Linked DNA regions of Homo sapiens: region 2 is linked to region 1. The links are contacts of gene promoters, found by promoter capture Hi-C in blood cells and fetal thymus (Javierre and others, 2016). All regions are on one chromosome and are shown on one strand. Each heading gives the region's core, a stretch centred on a gene start or on the middle of the fragment in contact. The rest is flanking DNA. Distances are from core to core; before and after follow the strand shown.

The links. The method cuts DNA at HindIII sites, captures the fragments that hold promoters and counts their contacts. A CHiCAGO score of 5 or more calls a contact.
Region 2: the fragment with the promoter of SNHG12 here is called in contact with the fragment with the promoter of PHACTR4 in region 1 in 15 of 17 cell types (fetal thymus, endothelial precursors, erythroblasts and 12 more); the score reaches 17.1 in fetal thymus.

What each region holds. Positions count from the first base shown.
Region 1 is chr1:28,366,504-28,372,204 of GRCh38, forward strand. It overlaps PHACTR4 (phosphatase and actin regulator 4), which reads left to right and starts at 3,237. Exons shown (of 14, transcript NM_001048183.3): 1 at 3,237-3,322. RefSeq lists enhancers at 2,409-3,364, 3,015-3,309 and a silencer at 3,391-3,610. The HindIII fragment of the contact is 7,867 bases long and covers 1-4,653 here.
Region 2 is chr1:28,580,371-28,586,071 of GRCh38, forward strand. It overlaps SNHG12 (small nucleolar RNA host gene 12), which reads right to left and starts at 2,613. Exons shown (of 6, transcript NR_146382.1): 1 at 1,720-2,613; 2 at 741-859; 3 at 190-276. SNORA44 (small nucleolar RNA, H/ACA box 44) reads right to left here and starts at 142; the gene lies at 11-142. SNORA16A (small nucleolar RNA, H/ACA box 16A) reads right to left here and starts at 683; the gene lies at 550-683. RefSeq lists enhancers at 209-994, 995-1,780. The HindIII fragment of the contact is 3,732 bases long and covers 1-3,356 here.

The DNA.
Region 1 (5,701 bases), core at 1,987-4,486:
TTTTTTTTTTTGACGGAGTTTTGCCCAGGCTGGAGTGCAATGGCGCAATCTCTGCTCACTGCAACCTCAGCCTCCTGGGTTCAAGCAATTCTCCTGCCTCAGCCTCCCAAGAAGCTGGGATTACAGGCATGCACCACCACATCTGGCTAATTTTTTTGTATTTTAATAGAGATGGGGTTTCACCATGTTGGCCAGGCTGGTCCTGAACTCCTGACCTCAGGTGATCCACTCGCTTCAGCCTCTGAAAGTGTGGGGATTACATGGGTGAGTCACTGAGCCTGGCCAGCTTATCTTTCTTTTCTTTTTTTTTTTTTTTTTTTTGAGACGGAGTCTCGCTCTGTCGCCCAGGCTGGAGTGCAGTGGCACAGTCTCCGCTCACTGCAAGCTCTGCCTCCCAGGTTCACACCATCCTCCTGCCTCAGCCTCCCGAGTAGCTGGGACCACAGGCGCCCACCACCACGCCCGGCTAATTTTTTGTATTTTTAGTAGAGACGGGGTTTCACTGTGTTAGCCAGGATGGTCTCGATCTCCTGACTTCGTGATCTGCCCACCTCGGACTCCCAAAGTGCTGGGATTACAGGCGTGAGCCACCGCGCCCGGTTTTATCTTTATTTTCATAACAGTCTTGACTAAAGTTTGAAATTTTGATGATATACAATTTATTCAATTTTTTTCTTTTCTTTTCTTTTCTTTTTTTTTTTTTTGAGACGGAGTCTCGCTCTGTTGCCCAGGCTGGAGTGCAGTGGCAAGATCTCGGCTCACTTGCAAGCTCTGCCTCCCGGGTTCACGCCATTCTCCTGCCTCAGCCTCCCGAGTAGCTGGGACTACAGGAGCCCGCCATCGCGCCCAGCTAATTTTTTGTATTTTTAGTAGAGATGGGGTTTCACCGTGTTAGCCAGGATGGTCTCAATCTCCTGACTTTGTGATCCACCTGCCTCGGCCTCCCAAAGTGCTAGGATTACAGGCGTGAGCCACCACGCCCGGCAATTTTTTTCTTTTTAAAATTTATTTATTTATATTTTAGAGATGGAGTCTCACTGTGTTGCCCAGGCTGGTCTTGAACCCATGGTCTCAACCAGCCCTCCAGCCTTGGCCTTCCAGAGTGCTGGAATTACAGGCATGAGTTATCATGTGTAGCCTATTAATTTAAAAAAATATATTTTTTAATTTTATTTTTGAGACTGAGTTTCCCTCTTGTAACCCAGGCTGGAGTGCAATGGTGCGATCTCGGCTCCCTGAAACCTCCGCCTCCTGGGTTCAAGCGCTTCTCCTGCCTCACCCTCCTGAGTAGCTGGGATTACAGGGGTGGGCCATCACGCCCAATAAATTTTTGTATTTTTTTTTTTTAAGACGGGATCTCGCTCTGTTGCCCAGGCTGGAGTGCAGTGGCGCGATCTCAGATCACTGCAAGCTCTGCCTCCCGGGTTCACGCCATTCTCCTGCCTCAGCCTCCCGAGTTGCTGGGACTACACGCGCCCTCCACCACGCCCGGCTAATTTTTTGTATTTTTAGTAGAGACAGGGTTTCATTGCGTTAGCCAGGATGGTCTCGATATCCTGACCTCGTGACCCGCCCGCCTCAGCCTCCCAAAGTGCTGGGATTACAAGTGTGAGCCACCGTGCCCGGCCAATTTTTGTATTTTTAGTAGAGATGTGGTTTCACCATTTTGGAGAGGCTGGTCTCGAACTCCTGACCTCAGGTGATCTACCAGCCTCAACCTCACAAAGTGCTGGGATTACAGGCGTGAGCCACCGTGCCAGGCCAATAAATATATTTTAAATATTTTTTTGAGACAAGGTCTCCCTCTGTCGTCCAGGCTGGAGTGTAGCGACACCATCACAGCTCATTGCAGCCTGGACCTCCCCAGCTCAAATAATCCTCCTATTTCAGCCTCCTGAGTACCTGGGACTACAGGCACGTTCCATCATGCCCAGCTAATTTTTAAAATTGTTTTTGTAGAGATGGGGCCTCACTCTGTTGCCCAGGCTGGCAGGCTGGTCTCAAACTCCAGGGCTCAAGGGATCCTCCCGCCTTAGCCTCCCAAAGTGCTGGGATGAGAGGTGTGAGCCACTGCACCCGGCCAATTTTTTTTTCTTCTTTTTTCTTTTTCTATTGAGACAGGGTCTTGCTCTGCTGCCCAGGCTGGAGTGCACTGGTGCGATCTCGACCCCCCAGGCTCAAGTGATCATCTCACCTCAGCCTCCCACGTAGCTGGGACTACAGGAGCTTGGCACTAGGCCCCGGATAATTTGTTTGTTTGTTTGTTTGTTTGTTTTGCGACGGAGTCTTGCTCTGTCGCCCAGGCTGGACTGCAATGGCAAGATCTCGGCTCACTGCAACCTCCGCCTCCTGGGTTCAAGCGATTCTCCTGCCTCAGCCTCCTGAGTAGCTGGGATTACAGGCATGCGCCACCGCGCCTGGCCAATTTTTTTAATTTTATGGATAGTGTATTTGAAAAGTCACATCGATTTTTCTCCTGGAATGTCCTCTAGATGTGCCGTAGCTTCAAGTTTTACATGTAGGTCTAATTTAGGTTGTGTGATACAATGGGTTTGCATTTAGAAGGGTCCTCTGGCAGCAGCAAGGAAGGTTTTCGGAGGGTGATAGCCTAGGGCCTGAAACTACTGAGACTTGGAGAGAAGTGATGGTGGCTTTCACTAGGTGATAGTAGTGAAGGATATCGAAATGAATTAAAATACTGGGGATGTAGAATGACTGGACTTAATGGCTTGAGGGAAGTGTCCAGAATGATTCCTGGGTTTCTTACGCACAACACTGAGGGTAGATAACTTGCTTGTACGTTTTTTGCACTTCAAATTGGTCCTCAATAAATAGTTTTTCCTTTGGGGAGGTTATGATTGAAATTTGGCCAGTCAGGGATACAGTTTTCTCAAACAACACTCTTGTATCAGTTCCCTTTTTGGGTACTGCCTGGAGCCCAGTATTGAACCCTGTCCTCCCAAGCCCAAAGACCTTTGCCTCCCATAGTACCAGGAAAGGTGCCCAAGTTCTTTTACACACAAGGTGCGCAGAGCGGCCAGCGCATGCCCAGAGAGGTCGTAAGGAGGACGACCGCCCGGAGAGAAAGGACGCACGCTTCCCGCCATTTTGTTCAGCTTGCCGGGCAACCGGCCCCTGCTGGGGACTACAAGTCCCGTAAGCCTCCGCGGCGGCACGTCCTACCCTACACTGTCCAGCCGGCTCCCTTTTTCCCCCTCCCCGGGGGCCAAGGGCTCCGGCTGCTGCCTGGCGGCCAACGGGCCAGGTAGGATTTCCGGGAGAGGCTGCTGTGGAGGCTGAGGAGGCGGCGGCGGAGATCTGGGTAAGTTCAGCGAGCAAGGGAAAGTGAGCAGGACGCGCTCAGTATCAGGCTGCGGCCTCCTCTCAGGCTGCGGCCCCTTTCTTGGCTCTGCGAGAGGGTCCCGGTCCGGGCAGAAGGTAACGGCCCGGGTCGCCGTCGCTTCGGGCCAGGGCGGGGCGGGGCCGCCGCCTCCCTCCTCGGCCCTCCCACAACGGTCCAACCCGGGCTTCTCCGCCTGAGGCAGGGCCCGCGCAGGCTCGCCCTCTCCGCCCCCCGAGACTTGGCTGGGCCCTTTTGTCTGGGCTGCGTTGCTCCCCCTTTGTGTCCGTGCATGGAGTCTCCGCCACGGGGGAGCCTGTTCCCCCGGTCCCCAACAGGGACTGCTCCCTGGGGATCCGGTTACAGTAACCGGATCGGGTCAAAGTACATTTTTCAAAACCGTCCTGCCTCAGACCTCTGCACCCCTGCTGGGCAGAACGGGGGCTTCGGAGCCAGGCGGAGTTTCTGTAAAAACCTGGAGGTTATTATTTAACTTTCAAACATCAGCCTGGGCGGCTTCAGGGCACGAAACTCCCGACGTTTTTCTTGGTGGAGAGATGAGATTAAGGAAAAGAAGCGACCCCTCTCTCCCACCCTCTACACCCCGGCTCCGGGAAACCGGGAAGGCATCGAATTTGCTGCGATGTCTGTGCAGCTCACATCTGTGATCGGTGGACCAAAGAACCAGTGGTGAATGGTAGAATGGCAGTTCACGCACCTCCCAAATCTCGGAGGAGAGTGACTTACAGGGCATCACTGATTGCTTGCAAAAAAAAAAAACCCTCCAGTGCTTCATTCGGACACTCAGCTCCTCGCTCCTTCCAACCTCTTCCTTTTCTTGTTCTTTTTAAAACAAACAGTGGAAGGAAAAAGTCCTTCAGTGGAAGAATTTGCTTTATAGAGGAACCAGAAACCCAGTGGCTTCTAGAAGTCACTTACTTTTTCGCCAAATTAAAGAAATGAATTTCGGGCGTGGTGGCGCGCGCCTGTAATGCCAACTATTCTGGAGGCTGAGGCAGGAGAATCGCTTGAGGCCAGAAGTTCGCGACCAGCCTGGGCAACACAGCAAGACCCCATCTTAAAAAAAAAAGGAATGAAGCCCGTTTAGAAATGAAGCCAGTTTAGGGGATGAGGTGTGGTAGATTCTTACCGGAAACCGCGGAACTGCGTGGATTGTGGATTCGATCAAATTTGGCTAGATAATGGTAACTGTGTATGTCCTCCTGTTGGAAGACTGCATTGCTAGAATCAGCTTAAGGTAAAATTTGTTTGTTTGTTTCATTTAAGAGACAAGAGTCTAGCTTGGTTGCTGAAGCTTGAGTACAGTGGAGAGCTCCTAGTTCACTGTAGCCTCGAACTTCTTGGCTTAAGCCATCCTTCCACCAGAGGCTCCCAGATGCCTGGGACTAGAGGCATGAGCCACTGTGCCCGACTATTTAATTTAATTTATTTATATTTATTTATTTATTTTGAGACAATCTCACTTTGTTACCCAGGCTGGAATGCAATGGCACGATCTTGGCTCACTGCAACCTCCACTTCCCAGGTTGAAGCGATTCTCCTGCCTCAGCCTCCTGAGTAGCTGGGATTACAGGTGTGTGCCACCATGCCCAGCTAGTTTTTGTATTTTTGGTAGAAACAAGGTTTCACCATGTTAGCCAGGCTGGCCTTGAACTCCTAACCTCAGGTGATCCACCCGCCTCGGTCTCCCAAAGTGCTGGGATTACAAGCGTGAGCCACCGTGCCTGGCCAATTTTTATGTATTTATTTTTTGAAATAGGGTCTCGCTGGGTTTCCCAGGCTGGAGTGCAGTGAGTTGAGCACTGCTCACTGCAGCCTGGACCTCCTCCTGGGCTCAAGCCTCTGCCTCCAGAGTAGCTGGGACAACAGACACAGGCCACCAGCGCAGCTAATTAAAAAAATTTTTAAAAAAATTTTTGTATTGATTGGGGTCCCACTCTGTTGCCCAGGCTGGTCTTGGACTCCTGGGCTCAAGTGATCCTCCCTCCCAAAGTGCTGGTATTAAACCTTAAGATAAAGAATACTGTATTTGTTTTTTGAGATAGAGTCTTGCTCTGTTGCTCAGGCTGTGCAGTGGCGTGATCTTGGCTCACTGCAACCTCTTCCTCCTGGTTTCAAGCGATTCTCCTGCCTCAGCCTCCCGAGTAGCTGGAATTACAGGCATGTGCCACCACTCCCGGCTAATTTTTTTTTTTTTTTTAGTAGAGATGGTGTTTCACCGTGTTGGCCAGGCTGGTCTGGAACTCCTGACCTAAAGTAATTTACCTGCCTCCGCCTCCCAAAGTGCTGGGATTACAGGTGTGAGCCACCGTGCCTGGCCAATAAAAAATTCTAAAGAAG
Region 2 (5,701 bases), core at 1,363-3,862, 210 kb after region 1:
GGTCCTGAAACATTATAGGAAAGCTGAGTGGCAGCTTGCAGGTATTGTACTGACCTGCGCTGTCAAAGTCTTTCCAGGTTGCTCTTGCATGCAGTTGGAGATCCCATGGCTATGACCAGCCACAGCCCTTGGAAACATGCTGTTCTGTCCCACCAGGCAGCCCCCAGTTAGTCTCCAAAAGAAACCTACCAGGTCCCCTGCATTTCATCACTGTCATTACCCCGGAAGTCCTCGATCACCAGAAAAATCACCTTCTGTCATCTTAAGAGTCTTCATCTGGACAGCAAAATGAGAACAACTGTCATGAACAATTTTATTGTTCCCATCATTTGGTCCTCAGAATGATACAAATCTGACCAGCCTTTGGTCCCAATACTGATGCCTTAAGCTATCAGTTAAGCTGTGTCACATCCCAGCTGGATTTTCCCAGTACGAGTCTTATGCTGGTTAACTGTACATGCAAACCCCCAACCGTTCTGCTGTTCTGTGGAAACAAGCCCATTTTGATAAAGGTCTCTGGCTACAGCTGAAAGGTGGCAGGTACAATGGAACTGTATTTTCCCAAAATGTTGCAGATCAGTTACAACAAACAGAACGGCGACCGTCAAGGAAAACTGTCACTCTGGGCTCCTTTTTGACCACAGCAGCTATGCGGAAGCAGCTGCAGCTTCGATAAGGGCCAAGGGGCAATTCAGATCCCAGGGCGGCCGCCTAAAGCCTCACCTGTCCATCATTACTACCTGCTTAAGTACGCCGGGATCTCTGTAGACTAAGTCAGTCATCCTGTAGGCCCCACTGCCCACGCTGTGCCAATAGCTGGTGTGCTTTTTCTCAGTCTTGATGGGACCGTTTTATCCGCCTATTACAGGTAAGAGGTTTAGACCGATTAAGTTACTTCCTGAAGGTCGCTTAGTCACTTAGCGAGGCTGAAAGCAACAAGCTGGGATGCACGCAAGGGTCTGAATGCCTAAAACCCGTCCTTCTGAAAACCGTGTCTACCAGGGCGACCTCCAGAGGTCTCGCGCGTAGTCACCAGTCCCAAAATCACCTAGCTGGTAAATGTCACAGATTCAACTGGAGGCCATCCTGACACCAGCATGCGGCCTCCCCCTGAATTAAGACACTTCAGGCCCAGGGATTCATCCCCGCATCCCCCAGGAGACCGGTTCCCAAACCCCCACCCCTTCCGTAAACCCGGCCGCCTGCCTGCAACACTCACCTGTCAGCCCAGAGCGCAGCGTTGCGCAGTCCGAAGCGAGAGAAGGGCGCGGCCCCCGCGGGCTCCCGCCCCTCTCACTGCCGAGGGGGCCTTTCGGAGCTCGGGCCCACCGGGTTGGAAGGCCCGGCTCCTCCGTGCCACATTCACCACCATCTCGAGGCCGTGGGAGGAAAAACCCGGCGAGTGCGCGCCAGCAGCAGCGACTAGCGGGGAACGGCGCGCAGGAAGGCAGGCAGAGGCTTGCAGCTAGTAAGTCGACACCGGGAATGCGGCGGGGAGAAAGGGCGCTGAAGCCGCGAGCAAGAGCTTATATAGGCCGCCCCTCGCGGCCACACCCGACAGTAGGCCGCCCGCGTGGCGCACAGCTGCCTGGGAGTTGTAGTTTGCTCGCCCCGGCGTTGTCCGCGCGTCACCTCCCCAGCCCTACGCGCGTGTCCATCCCGAGCCCGCGAAGCGAGAACCGCCAGAGGCTTTCCTCCGAGCGGAAGAAGCGCCTTCACCTTTCAGTGCCCGGCGCTGGGCCCACGCAGGAAGCCGACCCGCCTTGGCCTCTGGAGTTGTCTCTGGGATGTCTTTCAGTCTGGAAATGAACCCTGTGTGCTGGGAAAGGGCTCGGGCTCCGCTCCGAGCTCAGTGGGCGTGCGAGCGAGCAGCGCCTGAGTGGGTTTCGGGGAGGGGGTCATACTCCCCGAAAGGCGATTTATTCAAGGCTTGTCTCTTCCACTAATATGTAATTTTACTGAGCGCGTGCTATTTTAACTGTGTCTGATTATCTGATCTAGTTTTCATAAAAACCCTGTGTACGCTCTGTGGACAAATAAGGAAACTTAGGAATGGATCACACAGCTATCGCAAGCGAGGAGAGGACTGGAATTTGGAGCCCACCCCAGGCACCACACATAGCGCAATGTTTTGCCCATGGAATGAATAAGCCTCAGTATGAAAACTTAGTGGTGATTGCCGAGAATTAAACACCCATCCTGTGCCTAATCTATTAATTTTTATTCTTACATACACTTTTTTGTTTGAGACAGGGTCTTGTTCTGTTGCCCAGGCTGGAGTGCAGTGGCGTGATCAAGGCTCATTGCAGCCTCGACCAACTGGGCTCAAGCAATTCTTCCACCTCAGCCTCCCAGGTAGATGGGACTACAGGTGCGGGCCAACTTTCCTTGCTTACACTTTAAAAAGTAGGTACTACTGCCGGGTGCGGTTACTCACGCCTGTAATCCCAGCACTTTGGGAGGCCAAGGCGGGTGGATCACGAGGTCAGGAGATCGAGACCATCCTGGCTAACACGGCGAAACCCGGTCTCTACTAAAAAAAAATACAAAAAAAAATTAGCCGGGCGTGGTCGCGGGCGCCTGTAGTCCCAGCTACCCGGGAGGCTGAGGCAGGAGAATGGCGTGAACCCGGGAGGCGGAGCTTGCAGAGAGCCGAGATCGCGTCACTGCACTCTAGCCTGGGCAACAGAACGAGACTCTGTCTCAAAAAAATAAAATAAAATAAAAAGTAAGTACTACTTTAGCAGGTCGTGGGGGCGCATGCCTGTGGTCCTGGACTCCTCTCTTTCTCTAACATCACATGTCCAAGCCATCAGCAACTCCTGTGTGCTCTACCTTTAAAATGTATCAATAATCTGACTGTTTCTTACCCCTTCCACTGATGTTACCCTAATCGTTGACCCAGATGATAGCAATAGTCTCTTATCTCCCAGATCCTGCTGTTGCTCCCGACAGTCTGGTCTCCACACGCCAGCCAGCCTGCTAAAAGTTTTTTAATTTTTATGAAGTCTAAGAGTCAATTTTTTTTTTTGTAGTTTATGCTTTTTTTTTTTTTTCTTGAGACGGAGCTGCTCTGTCGCCCAGGCTGGAGTGCAGTGGCGCCATCTCAGCTCACTGCAAGCTCCCGCTCCCGGGTTCACGCCATTCTCCTGCCTCAGCCTCCCAAGTAGCTGGGATTACAGGCGCCCGCCACCACGCCCGGCTAATTTTTTGTATTTTTAGTAGAGACAGGGTTTCCCCATGTTGGGCAGGATGGTCTCGATTTCCTGACCTCGTGATCCACCCGCCTCGGCCTCCCAAAGTGCTGGGATTACAGGCACGAGCCACCGCGCCCGGCCGTTTGTTTACGCTTTAAAAGCTTAATAATTATGCTGGGCGCGGTGGCTCCCACCTGTAATTCCAGCACTTTGGGAGTCCGAGGGGGCAGATAACCTGAGGTCAGGATTTCAAGTCCAGCCTAGCCAACATGGTGAAAACCCGTTTCTACTAAAAATACAAAAATTAGCTGGGCGTGGTGGCAGGCGCCTGTAATCCCAGCTACTTGGGAGGCTGAGGCAGGAGAATCGTTTGAACCTGGGAAGCGGAGGTTGAAGTGAGCTAAGATGGAGCCATTACACTCCAGCCTGGGCGACAAGAGCGAGACTCCGTCTCAAAAAAAAAAGAAAAAAAGTAAAATTATTAAACTTTTTTTTTTTTTTTTGGAGATGAAGTCTCGCTTTTTCGCCCAGGCTTGTGCAGTTTATTCTGTGTCAATTATGCCTCAATAAAGCTGTCAAAAAACCATTAAGAAAAAATGTATATCTCCCAGGCGCAGTAGCTCCCACCAATTCGGGAGGCCAAGGCAGGTGGATTACCTGACATCAGGAACTAGAGACCAGCCTGGCCAACATGACAAAACCCCATCTCTACTAAAAATACAAAAAAAAAAAATTACCCAGGCATGGTGACACTCATCTACAGTCCCAGCTACTTGGGAGGCTAAGGCATAAGAATCGCTCGAACCTGGGAGGCAGAGGTTGCAGTGAGCCAAGATCATGCCACTGCACTCCAGCCTGGGTGATACAGCGAGACTCCCTCTCAAAAAATATATCTATATATATCTATCTATATCTATGTGTGTGTATATATAGATAGATAGATATACATATTATATTAAGGCAGATGCAGTGGATCACCTGTAGTCCAGCTACTTGGGAAGCTGAAACAGGAGGATCACTTCTGTCCAGGAGCTGGAGGTCAGCCTGGGCAACAAAGTGAGACCCTGCCTTTAAAAATAAATAAGGCCAGGCACAGTAACTCATGCCTGTAATCCCAGCACTTTGGGAGGCCAAGGCGGGTGGGTCACGAGATCAGGAGTTCAAGACCAGCCTGGCCAAGATGGTGAAACCCCGTCTCTACTAAAAATATAAAAAATTAACCAGACATGGTGGCGGGCGCCTATAATCCCAGCTACTCGGGAGGCTGAGGCAGAGGTTGCAGTGAACCGAGATCGTGCCACTGCATTCCAGTCTGGGCAACAGATCAATATTCCATCTCAAAAGTAATAATAAAATAAAAGTAAATAAATAAGTAACATGTATTTTTTAAAACTTTTTTTTTTTGAGACGGAGTTTCCCTCTTGTTGCCAGGCTGGAGTGCAATGGCACGATCTCGGCTCACTGCAACCTGTACCTCCCAGGTTCAAGTGATTCTCCTGCCTCAGCCTCCTGAGTAGCTGGGATTACAGCACCTGCCCCAGGCCCGGCTAATTTTTTGTATTTTTAGTAGAGACGGGGCTTCTCCATGTTGGTCAGGCTGGTCTTGAACTCCCGACCCCAGGTGACCTACCTGCTTGGCCTCCCAAAGTGCTGGGATTACAGGCATGAGCCAGGCCTAAAAAACATTTATATCATGTTATTCACTTGCTCAGAAATCTCCCATGACTTCCCAACACACTTAGAATAAAAACGGCAATCTCCATAATGGTCTCCAAGGTCATACGTGATCAGGCTCCTCCTCCTTCCTGCCCTCATCACGCACCACTTGCTCCCTCACTCAGTCAGCTCCATCTTCCTGGACTCTTTGCTCTTCTTGAAGCACCCCAGGGCCTTTGCTCTTGCCTGGAACTCGCCCCACCTGAATATCACAGACAATCACACTTCTTAAGCCTCACTTCCCCTGGGTTTCTGTCCACACGTCACCTCCTCAGGCCATCCTATTTTGATACAGCACCCCTCCATCCTCCAACCTTCAAGTCACTGCCTCCTTGATTGTTATTTACAGCACTTAGTGCTTCCTGACATGGTATTATATATGTATTTTGTTTTCTGTTTTCCCTATTAGAATGTGAGCATCCCAAGAGAGCTGGAATTTTGTCTTTTTTCCCCCCTACTGCTGTATAAATGCCTGGTACATAAAAGATGGCCAGCATTCTTGAAATAATCACCAAGTGGGCCGGGCGCGGTGGCTCACACCTGTAATCCCAGCACTTTGGGAGGCCAAGGCGGGCAGAACACGAGGTCAGGAGAGCGAGACTATCCTGGCTAACACAGTGAAACCCTGTCTCTACTAAAAAACAAACAAACAAAAAAAAAAAACAGGCTGGGCGCAGTGGCTCAGGCCTGTAATCCCAGCACTTTGGGAGGCCAAGGTGGGCGGATCACCATCAGGCCTCTGAGCCCAAGCTAAGCCATCATATCCACTGTGACCTGCACATATACAT